3 separate regions of the Homo sapiens genome follow, and regions 1 and 3 are each linked to region 2. Evidence: promoter capture Hi-C in 16 types of primary human blood cells and fetal thymus (Javierre and others, 2016). All regions are on one chromosome and are shown on one strand. The core of a region is centred on a gene start or on the middle of the fragment in contact, and the rest is flanking DNA. Distances in the headings are between cores, read along the strand shown.

What was found. The method cuts DNA at HindIII sites, captures the fragments that hold promoters and counts their contacts. A CHiCAGO score of 5 or more calls a contact.
Region 1: a contact is called between the fragment with the promoter of TCF3 here and the fragment with the promoter of CNN2 in region 2, in 3 of 17 cell types (total B cells, erythroblasts and naive CD8 T cells). The highest score is 9.0, in total B cells.
Region 3: a contact is called between the fragment with the promoter of KLF16 here and the fragment with the promoter of CNN2 in region 2, in 2 of 17 cell types (non-activated CD4 T cells and naive CD8 T cells). The highest score is 6.0, in non-activated CD4 T cells.

The regions. Positions count from the first base shown.
Region 1 is chr19:1,650,393-1,654,176 of GRCh38, reverse strand. It overlaps TCF3 (transcription factor 3), which reads left to right and starts at 1,562. Exons shown (of 19, transcript NM_003200.5): 1 at 1,562-1,877. RefSeq lists enhancers at 824-933, 1,054-1,103 and silencers at 1,394-1,443, 1,454-1,583, 2,114-2,193, 2,284-2,513, 2,321-2,543 and 1 more. The HindIII fragment of the contact is 10,400 bases long and covers 1-3,271 here.
Region 2 is chr19:1,025,184-1,029,010 of GRCh38, reverse strand. CNN2 (calponin 2) reads right to left here and starts at 2,403. Exons shown (of 7, transcript NM_004368.4): 1 at 2,287-2,403. The coding sequence starts at 2,349. RefSeq lists silencers at 451-626, 2,116-2,755 and an enhancer at 2,746-3,477. The HindIII fragment of the contact is 13,555 bases long and covers 1-3,827 here.
Region 3 is chr19:1,862,003-1,865,614 of GRCh38, reverse strand. KLF16 (KLF transcription factor 16) reads left to right here and starts at 2,036. Exons shown (of 2, transcript NM_031918.4): 1 at 2,036-2,574. The coding sequence starts at 2,118. RefSeq lists enhancers at 1-500, 3,608-3,612, silencers at 674-893, 964-2,063, 2,394-2,573, 2,624-2,793 and a promoter at 943-2,147. The HindIII fragment of the contact is 13,147 bases long and covers 1-3,612 here.

The DNA.
Region 1 (3,784 bases), core at 313-2,812, 630 kb before region 2:
GAGTGTAAATTTCCCTTTGGGGCCCCAGGGAGCCCTGGGAGATTGTGTTATTTTCATTTATTTGTTTAGTTATTTTACTTTTTTTTTTGAGACGGAGCCTCGTTCTGTCGCCCAGCCTGGAGTGCAGTGCTGCGATCTCTGCTCACTGCAACCTCTGCCTCCTGGGTTTAAGCGATTCTCCTGCCTCAGCTTCCCGAGTAGCTGAGATTATAGGTGTATGCCACCACGCCCAGCTAATTTTTGTATTTTTATTTTATTTTACTTATTTATTTATTTATTTTGAGACGGAGTTTCGTCCTTGTTGCCCAGGCTGGAGTACAATGGCGTGCTCTCGGCTCATTGCAACCTCCGCCTTTCGGGTGAAAGCGATTCTGCTGCCTCAGCCTCCCGAGTAGCTAGGACTACAGGTGCCCGCCACCATGCCCGGCTAATTTTTGTATTTTTAGTAGAGATGGGGTTTCACCGTGTTGGCCAGAGAGGTCTCGAACTCCTGACTTCAGGTGATCTGCCCGCCTTGGCCTCCCAAAGTGCTGGGAATACAAGCGTGGGCCACCGCGTCCGGTCAACTTTTTAAATTATTATTTTAAATTATTTTAAATATTTTTAGAGACGGGTGTGGGTGGGGGGGGTTTCACTATGTTGTTCAGGCTGTTCTCGAACTCCTGGCCTCAAGCGATCTTCCCGCCTCGGCCTCCTTCAAAGCGCTGGGATCACAGGCAGGAGCCACGGCGCCCGATCCTAGGCGGGGTCACTTTTTACTAAAATGTAGACACGGACTACTAAGAATCAGGAAGCCAGATCTGGCCTGAGTTCTGTCCAAAGTCAGGTCCAAATTCACAGATGCCGAGACGGAGACTCAAGTCGGCAAAGGCACCGCTGAGACTCCCCGCGGGGCTCTCTGACCCAGAGCCGGAGCCAGAGTCGGTTTTCCCGCCGGGAAAATGGGTCTGACGTAGCCCCCTCGGGGCCGTGATACCCGCTCGCACCACTCAGCACGCGGGGCCGGCCCGAGGAACGCAAATATAACCAAGCAGAAGGCTCCGCGCGGGCGGCCACGCCAACCTGAGAACAAAACTCCAGGACCCACCCCGGCCGCCTCTCGCGGCCTCTCGCTCGCAGAGTCCCGCCTCTGCTGAGGGGCGGGGCCGAGAAGAAAGGAGGCGGGGCCTCACCACGAATGGCTAGGATCCCCGCCCATCAGACTTTCGCGGCTTCCGATTGACCAGACTGCTCTGCCTTAGCTTTCAATCTCACGGGCCTTACTCGCTTGCGTCATGGACTAAGCGCACAGCTCGTGTGTGCTTCCGCGGACGGGGATAGTCCGTGATTTCTCCCCGCGCCGTGGCCCGACCGCCTCCTCTGCGCGTCCCCGCTCCCAGGCTCTGGACCTCACGGGATTCGGGGTCCTCACGAGGGTGCTCGAGAGGCCGAGCTAGGGCGTTCGGGCCCGAGCCGCCCGGAGGTGGCGGAGGGATCCGCGTGGGCCGCCGGGCGGGGCACTCGGGGGCGGGGCAGGGGCGGGGCCTGCACGGGGCGGGGCGGGGCGGCGCGGGCGGGGGGCGGAACATGTCTCCCGCCGCAGGAAGATGAGGCAGCGGCGGCGGCTGCGGGCGTAGCGGGCCGGAGCCGACGCGGCGGCGGGCACCGCGGGCACCGCGCACGCCGCTGCCCCAGGGGCGCCCCGGCCGGCCGCGCGCACGGGCCCCGCGGGACGGGCCACGCGGGGGTGGGAGGGGCCCGGGCCACGCGCGCCGCCGCCGCCGCCCACGCGCGACCCTCGGGGGCCCGGCCGCGACGCACCTTTGTCCGGGGGGGGGCCCCCCCGCTTCATGCCGCCGCCCCCCCCCACGCGCCGCGTGCCCGGCCGCGCCCAGCAGGTGAGCCCGGCGGGGGGCGGGGGGCGCGCCCGGTACCCCCGTGCTTTGTGCCCAGGGAACCCCGGCCCGCCCCGCGCGCGCTTGTTGGGGGGGGGCGCGGAGGAAGTTGGGGCGGGGGCGGTGTCGGGGGGCGCCCCGCGGCCCGGGAGTCATTGTTCTCCAACTTCGCGCGGCGCCGGGGGGGCGGCGACGTGGAGGAGCCCGGAGCTCGCCAGGCCCGCGTCGCCCCCGTCGGGCCGGGCACTTCGGGAAACTTTAAGCAGCCCCGGGCGGGGGCGCGGGGGGCGCCGGACGGGCTGTGCAACTTAGGCGCGAGGACCGTCCCCCCCAGCCCGGGCGCACGGGGACCCCGGGGCGCCCCCTTTCTCGGGTAGAGGGGGGCCCGGCCCGGGCGCCGGAGTTTGGGGTGGGGAGCGCGCGGGAGGGACGTCCTTTTGTCTGCGCGGGGAAGGTGCCGCGCGCTGCAGGCGCTGGTCGGGGCCGGGCGGGCCGGGGGGGGGCGCGCGGGTAACATCTGCTCCGCGTTAATGCGGGGCGAGGCGGCGGCCGCGCTGCGAGCTTCAAAGGCTCCCGGGCCGCACCGCCTGCACCGGCTGCGGGGGGAGGGGGGTCCGGCTTCCCGGGCCGCCTCCCCCCGGGAAAAAGGCGTTCCAGCGCGCCCCCCGCCTTCGGCGCCGTGCAAAGTGGCTTCAAACATTCTCCAAGTCTCTCAAAGTCCTTGGGACGCCCCAGAAGTCTTCCAGCTCCCGTAGAATGCCCGTTTTAGCTCGCCACCCCCCCAACTAAGTCTGTCTTAAAATCGGTTTCAGCTACCCCACAAAAAAGTGCGGTTTCGTAGTCCTCAAAAAAAGTCAGTTTCACACGCCCTCCAAAAAAGAAAAAAACTGAGCGGGGGAGGGGCTGCGCTGGGGCGCCCGCTTCACACCCGGCCTCCAGTTGGCAGACAAAGAGGGGATTTCTCTGCTTCTGAAGTTGGGTCTCCCTCGACCTCGGAGGCTCCTCCCCACCCCCAGCCTCGGAGGTGTCTCCCGGGCTGCCCCCGTCCCCACCTGGGGACCCCTGGGGAAAGTCGAGACTGGAGGGGCCTGGAGTGCATTTCTTTGGAATGGAAATTTTTCTCTGTACCTTTTTCTGGGGGTGGAATGGGTCTTGGCAGGTGGATCCCCCATCCCCCATCTTAGAATGGAGCCCCCTGGGACCACGCGGGAGCACCCTGGTCTTGAGACGCTCTCCCCGCTCATGGAGGGCAGGCAAGGGATGTTGTCAAAGTTTTGCTTAAAAATAATTCCCGGATACATCGCGACAGTAAAGCAATCTAGGGCTGTTTTTTTTTTCTTTCCTGAATACTGTTGGGGTTTTCTTGGGGGGAGGGAGATTGAGGGTGGAGGAAAGCTTTGCTGGTCCCTGCATAGGATGCGCGTCCCCCCCACCCCCGGCACTTTAAGTCTTGAAGCTTGTAAAAGAGTTTCGTGGTTTTCTGACTTGTGGATTTCCTTCATGTTGAATTTGGGGGCGACCTGGTCTTCAACGGGCTGTGCCATCTGCTGGGGGAGGGGGGAATCACCAAATTTCCCTCGGGGCGGGGTAGGATCGGGCTGTTCCTCCCTTTCCCGGGGGTAGGGGGCCTCAGAGGAAGCCCGGGGTTGGTTGGAAATGAGAGAGTTGGAGAAAGGAGAGGTTCTGGCTGCCCTGCGTGCAGTTTAAACTTGGCAACTTGATGCCCTGGTGTTCCCTGGGGGAGTTAGGGAGTTTATATTTGCACACCCTCCCCCCATTTTTCAGACTCCCTGTGGTCTCTGGGGAGGACTCTGCAGGGACCTAGACTCTGGAATTCCAGCTTCCCTGCGCCTGCTCCCAGGGCTCCCCGTGCCCCCAGGGCTCTGCTGGAACTCAGACCCCAGGGCGGT
Region 2 (3,827 bases), core at 1,154-3,653:
ACCTGGACCTGCCTGGGATTATTTGGGTTAGGGTCCCCTGACCTGGCACCTGCCTGGAAACAGCTCGTAGCCCAGAGGAGGCAAAGGCGGGGAGGCCCCCCAGTACCAGCTCACAGCCCACCCAGCTTGGCTTTCCACGCCCGGGGGCAGCCCCGCCCCGCCGGCAACTTTGATCCCGAGGAATGAGAACGGTGGCTGCTGGGTACACAGCCCTGCCTTGCCCAGCTGCGCCGCGTCTCTGCCGGCTCAGGGGCCCAGGTCCCCTGGCCCCACCCCCAGCCGCTGCCGTCCTCCCCCACCCCCGCCCCCCCGCTGCCCGGCCGCCGGCCTTCCAGCACATTCCTGTTCACCACAAACTGCCAGGAATGCGCGCTGCCTCCCCGGCTAAATCTGAACCAGCTGTTCCCAGCGGGTCCGGACCCCCAAGCCGGGATGCAAGGCCGCAGACACTGTGGATCCGAGCTGCCTCCGTGCCGTCCAGCCGGGAGTCAACTGAGCCACGGGGAAGCGGGGCGGGGGGCGGGTCTCTGGCTGTTTCAAGCAGCCGGTAAAGCGGGTGTGAGCGGGAAGCCAGGGGGAAGCTGGTTTCTAATTGGGAGGCGACCCTTCCGTGACCCTGGCAAGCTGGCCGACGCCTCGCCCACCCTCCAAACGGACAGACTGAGGGTTGCGCGGGGAGCCTGCTAAGCGGCTCTTCCAGCCTCTGTCCTCACCCCCGCCAGGGCAGGTATCAACCTGCCCCCACCCCACCCCACCCCGTCTCCGGAAGCCGCCCCACCCTCCTGTGCCCGCTCCCACTTCCGCAGGCCCAGCAGGTACTGGGTTCCGGTCTTGGCCCTGTCACTTGTGGGCTGTGTGGCCCTGGGCAGCTGGAACGACGTCTCTGGGTCCCTGTGGACACCGGTGCCCTTAGCCGGCTGTATGCAGGGTGCGGCAGGGTGCCCACCCCACTGCACGGGGGGCTCTATGAATGCAGGGTGCAGATGGCCCCTTGAAGGAGGAGTCGTGAGCCCCGGGCTGGGGACCCTGGCTCAGGCCTTGACCACCCCAAGCCTCAGCCTCCCTTTTTGGCCAAGAGCTGGTCTGAAGGCTTGCAGGGGCTCACAGCGGGGAAGCAGGAATTCTCCCTCCAGTCTGCCGGCCCTGGAGTGCCGCCGGGCAGGTGGCTGTTGGGGCTGGCAGGGCCGGTGCCCTCAGAGCGTGCAGAGGCAGTTTCCCCTGCAGAAGTCAGCTGTAAGGACACCTTCCCAGGTGCCCAGTGGGCGTCGGGGGAGGGGGTGGGCGGGGACGACACCCCCCTCCAGCTGGAAGGTCCTGGAGGGTCAGGTCCCGGTCCTGTCCGTGGGTCTCGCATCACAACCCCCGCCCCCCACTTTCCCTGGGAATCCTGTCCAGGACCCTGCTGTGTGACCCTGCAGAAGTGTCTGGTCCTCTCTGAGCTAGAACCACAAGTGCTCTCTTAAAAAGTGTCTCCCCTAGCCCTGGCTTGTTTTTAATTATAGAGATGGGGTTTCGCCATGTTGCCCAGACTGGTCTCGAACTCGCTGGGCTCAAGCCATCCACCCAGCTCCGCCCCCCAAAGTGCTGGGATTACGGGCGTGAGCCCCCGCGCCCTGCCGGGCCCCAGCTCTTCTTTCGAGGCTGCAAAACCCCACATATCTCAGGGCCACCTTCAGAGAACCTCTTTGTTATCCGTTTAAATTAGTCAGATGGGAGACAAAGACCGTGCAAAGCGGCTACCGCCCCTCCCCCCAAGACACCCCCAAGGTGTCCCAGAGGCCAGGAAATTCCTGTTTGTGGGGGGGTAACACTTCTCAAAAACCACTCGGCCATGCCCCTTCCCCTCCCAAAGCTAAGAGGCCCCAAAAGCAGAAGTGTGGCCAGGAGATGACGGGGTTGCTGGGGTCCCCCCCAGACCCCCAGAGCGTTGTCGGACCTTGAACGGACCTTCTCGAAGGTTGAGTGGGCGCCAGGGGCTTCACACGTGGGGGTCCTGGGGCCATGGCGAGGGGACGAAGTCAGACCCAACTACCCCTAGATGTTGGGGGGGGGAATGGGTCACTCGTCCCCCAGATCTCAGACCTGGGTGCTCCCCAAGATTCGCGGGAGCCTCAGGGGGTGCCCGCAGACATCCCCCCACCAGGCGTCAGGGAGAACAAGGGCCCGTCCGCCCCGGGTCTCCAAGCTCCCTGCCCGGGAGGTGCCGGGGGCGCCTGGGGGCTCCTGCACCGGTCGGAGCGTGCGACGGCCGCGCTGTCGGGGGGACAAGGGGCGCCCCTCACTCACCCGGTTCTTGACCTCGGCCGACAGCCCGTACGAGGGGCCCTTGTTGAACTGCGTGGAGCTCATGGCTGGCGGGCGGGCGGCGGGACGGGGCCGCACAGGACGGGACGGGACGGGACCGCCGGGCTGGCGCGGGGTTGGGACGCGCCGGGCTCCGCGCGCCACGCCCCCGCCGCTGATTGGCCCGGAGCGCAAATGTCCTTATAAGGCCTGGAGGCGCCGAATTCCTGCGGCCGCGGACTTCCTGAGCCCCCTCGGTCGCCCCCGGACCCCCGCCTGGGCACAGCACCCCCGTCACCAGAGGCCTGGAGGGGCCCCTCGCCCCCTTTGATGCCACGGGAAACTGAGGCAGGGAGGGGCCGAGGCCGCCGGGACGTGGCACTCCTGCGGGCTCTCTGCTCAGAGCTCGTGGGCGGCTCTCACTCTTTCTCCATCTCAGACTTCTCTTCTGCCAGAAAGGGGAGGGGAGAAGGCTACCTTTGGGGCAGGAATGAGGGCCCCTCTCTGCCACTTAGAGGCGTCTAACCCCTTCCCAGGGAACTCTACTAGCTGGGAGGTGGACCAGGGAACCAGGGCAGGTTCCTCAGAGAAGGGGCCATTGGAGCTGGGGCTTTGTTGGATGAGTAGGAGTTTGTCAGTCCAAAAGAGAATAGGATTCTTACTGGGTGCGGTAGCTTGCACCTGGAGTTCTAGCTACTTGGGAGGCTGAGGCCGAAGGGGGAGGATCCGTTGAGCCCAAGAGGTCGAAGCTGCAGTGAGTTATCATCACAACATGACGCTCCAGCCTGGGCAGCAGAGCAAGAGCCTCTCTCTAAAAATAAATAAATAAATAAAAATAAAAATCCGAGTGGCTCACGCCTGCAATCCCAGCACTTTGGAAGGCCGAGGCGGGCGGATCACTTGAGGTCAGGAGTTCCAGACCAGCTTGGCTAACATGGCGAAACTCCGTCTCTACTAAAAATACAAAAATTAGCCGGGCATGGGGGCACATGCCTGTAATTCCAGCTACTGAGGAGGCTGAGGTGGGAGGATCACTTGAAGCCAGGAGGCGGAGGTTGTAGTAAGTCGAGATCGCGCCACTGCACTCCAGCCTGGGCGACAGAGCAAGACTCCGTCTTAAAAAAAAAAACAAAAAAAAAAAACACAAAAAAACCCTAATAATAATAAATTATTAAAAAGTCTCCGGGACAGTCTCCTGCCAGGCAGTGCTGGCTCTCAGGAGACCTTAGCTCTGGCCCAGCCCATGCCCAGGAAGACAGAGCTGGCACAGACCAACCCCCAACCCGGATTCCCTGTATGAGCCAGCACAGGCGGAACCCCCCCACCCCGCCCACCCTGTTTCCCTATATGAGCAAGTACAGGACAGAATGAGAGGCTTGGGGCTGGAGGAACTGGAGGGAGAGTTGGGGCTCTGTCGGAGGAATCAAGGAAAGCTGCATGTAAGAGGAGGCAAGGGAGATGGGGTTTTGAAGCATCAATAGGAGTTTGACACATTTTATTTTATTTTATTTTATTTTATTTTATTTTATTTTATTTTATTTTAT
Region 3 (3,612 bases), core at 787-3,286, 840 kb before region 2:
CTCACAGTGAAGGTCCTGCCTGGGGCCATGTGGCCCACCCCTGGAGGCTGCTCACCCCTGCCCCCCATCGTTAGCCTCCCAGTTACAACTGTAAGCCCCTTGAGGGCAGGGCTGGTTGGTTCTGCTCTAAGCCCAGGAAACATCAGTGGAAGACGCATGGTTGGGTGTGGACCCTGAGGCCTCAAGACACACCTGTCCACAAGCCAATGCGGGGTTCCAGGACCCTGGGGGCTGCTGGGATGGTGGGGACCTGGGGGACCTGCCCAAGTGGCCCATCGTCCTAGAAGTTCAAAGACAACAGAGGCCCAGCAGGAGCAGGAACGCCGACCCCCAGCGCCCACCGAATGGTAGGGGTGCAGAGAGGGCTCTGGAGCCCAGGCCTAGGAGAGGGGCAAGTGTGTGCAGGGCACCCTGTACCCTCCCACACTTCGCTGAACCTCCTCTCTCTCGGCTCCGCTCTGTCCAGCCACGTAGAGTGGGCTTACTGGGGCCCAGGGAGGGCTCAGCTGGCTTAACCAAGCATGGTTGAGCCCAGGCGCAGTGCGGGCGACCCAGGGAACAGTGGTCAGCCTCAGGGCGTCAGCTGGGGTTGCAGGTGGGCGGGGGATGGGGCTAGAGAAGCCCCGAATCGGGTCAGGGCCTCTGTCCATGCCCAACCCAGAGCAGGAGGTCGCCGCAGGCCAAAGCAGCTCCGCCCCCTGGAGGCAGCTCCGGCCACTGCGCAGTCCCCGCCGCCCCGCCGGAGCTGGGAAGGGGCGGGAGCGCGGTCGCGACCGAGGGGGGCCGCCCAGTTTCTGTGCCCCCGCCGCCTTGGGCCTGCGAACTGGGCCATCCGCGTCCCTGGTGTCCCCCCTAATATTTAACAAGTTGGCCTGGACGTCCTCGCGGCCGGGAGGCCCGAATACCTGGCCTCAGTTTTCCCGTCCGAACCCCAAGAATCGATGCCTGGGAATGGAAAGAGAAGCCCCGGACCCCGGTGTCCCAGCAGGGCGGGGAACCTCTGACCCGCTCAGGCGCCCCCAGCCCAGCCCAGCCCTTTGCGTTCGGCCCCCTCTTCCCGTCCCCCTATCCCGACCCTCTGGGACCCAACCGGCCCTCCCCACCCCCAGTGGGGCGCGCTCTAGTAGCTCCGGAACTGGGTGCAAAAAGAGGAACGAACGCAGCCTTGCCCCACCCTCCCGGGCCCCGCCGCGGGCGCGGGATACCGGGTGTCTCGGCCGGGAGGCTCCGAGGGGCTCTGTGAGCGGCGAGGGGGAACCCCAGAGAAGAGGACGAGCAGATGCCTGAGTGCGGGGTCAAAGCAGGGCCCCAGGCCGGGAGAAGAGGGGGGAAGGGTCGCGCACGTGGCCTGGGGGCGGGGCCGGCCGCTTCCGCACCCCTCCAACCCCGGCCACGTGGGGATCGGAGCCCTCCTCCATCGCGAACGGGGGCGCGCCCGGGGCCAGGAGGGAAGCATCCGGGGAGGGGGCGGGCTCCCGCCGGCCGCGCGCCCCGGCGTGGGGTGGGCGCGCCAGCGAGGAGGCGGGGCGCGCTCTGGGAGGGAGGGGCGTGCCGGGATGGGGCGGGGCGCGCTCTCGGAAGGAGGGGCGTGCCGGAGAGGGGGCGGGGTCCTCGGCCTCCCGCCCCGGCTTGAGGGGGTGGTGCTCCGGGAAAGGGTACGGGGGCGCGCGCTGGAGTGGGGCGCGCCGGGAGGGGGCGGGGCTCCCGGCCTTGCACCCTAGCGCGGAGAAGGCGCGCTCCGGGCCTAAGACGCTAGGCGCTGGCGGAGGCCGGAGTGGGCGCGCCGGGGGGCGGGTTCCTCCGGCCCGAGCCCCGCCCCCGGCGGCCGCGCGCGGCTCGGAGAGTGGTGGAGGGCGCGCCGGGCGGGGGGCGTGGCTGCGGCGCCCCGAGGGGGCGTCCTCCGGGCGGGGCGGGCTGTGGCCGCCCCCGCGGGCTCCGGTGCGTCAGGACGCGTCAGGCGGGGCGGGGCAGGCCGAGCGCGGGCGTCGGCGGCGGCGCGCGCCGGGCCTCCTCCTCCTCCTCCTCCGCCTCCCGCACTCGAGCAGCCGCCGCCGGCCGGACGGACGCCGCTCCCGCCGCCTCCGCTCCGCCCGCCGCGCCGCGCGCCCTTGCTCGGCATGTCGGCGGCCGTGGCGTGCGTGGATTACTTCGCCGCCGACGTGCTCATGGCCATCTCTTCGGGCGCCGTGGTGCACCGCGGGCGGCCCGGCCCCGAGGGCGCGGGCCCCGCCGCCGGCCTGGATGTGCGCGCGGCGCGCCGCGAGGCCGCCTCACCCGGGACCCCGGGGCCACCCCCGCCGCCCCCCGCCGCTTCTGGCCCGGGCCCCGGCGCCGCCGCGGCGCCCCACCTGCTGGCCGCCAGCATCCTGGCCGACCTGCGCGGCGGACCCGGAGCCGCCCCGGGGGGCGCCTCGCCCGCCTCCTCCTCCTCAGCCGCCTCGTCCCCGTCCTCGGGCCGCGCCCCCGGCGCCGCGCCCTCCGCCGCCGCCAAGAGCCACCGCTGTCCCTTCCCGGACTGCGCCAAAGCCTACTACAAGTCCTCGCACCTAAAGTCGCACCTGCGGACGCACACAGGTGAGTGCAGCCGCGATCCCGGCCCTTGCGGGGGCGGCCGCCTGAGACCCCTCCCCCGCCAGGACCCCGAAACTGCGTGGCGCGTGGGGGGCGGGGAGGGGGGCGCGCCCGGGCCGCCGCCGCGCCGGCCGGCAGGGCGGGGCCTCGGTGGGTGGGGCGCGCGCGGGGGGCGTGGCGGCCACGCGGTCGGGCGGCGAGCGGATGGCCGCCCCGGCGGCAGTGGCGGGGGCTCCGGGGGCCCAGCGAGGTCTGCGGGCGGGATTGAGACTCCTGGGCAGACCACCTCTCTCCCTTTCTGGGCCTTGTTCCGTTTTTTTTTTTTTCTTTTGCGTTCTGGTCTGGGCGGTGGGCACCGTGGTTGGAGCATCCGGCTCTGGGGTTCTGGGTTCTCCCCCTCCCCCAGCCTCAGTTTCCTTATCTGTGAAAATGGAGGAGGAACCGCGTCGCCGCCGCCGGGGTGGCCGCGCGGATTCTCCCCAGAGGTCGGCAGAGCACCTGGCGTGGGGCCAGGATGGGGGGAGCCCGGCACGTTTTCTCTGCGTTCTCTGTATTTTAACGAGGGGGAGGGCGAGGCTAGGAGCGCGGGTTGGGGCCTGAGTCTGGGCGGGGGAACTTCATAGTATTGGAGGACCCTCGAGGGGCTCGGGTCCACACTGCTGTATTTCCCTGGCGTGTTTGTTCACCCCTACCTGGCGGGCGATTCGGGAAGGTGCGCGTAGTTGGAGCGCTTCGGCTACACCAACGCCCCTCCTAGCGCAGTCCCCGGGGCGGCGAGGGGAACCGGGAGCCTGGTGGGCCTGGCTGTATTTTTTCACTCCGTCCCCTCCTAGGGTTCCACTTTCTGGACTGGGAGTTTGGACTGGGCAACAGGGGACGGTGGGCCTTGATGGCCGGCCCTGGTTTGGGCATTAGAGGTGCTTGTCCCTTCCGGGGAGGGTGGGGGGCTGGGGGAAAGCTGTGCGGCTGCCCTTGGGCTTGGCATTCTGGCCTTGCCACCAAACAGAAGACCTCTACCCGATCTGGGTCTCAATTTTCTCA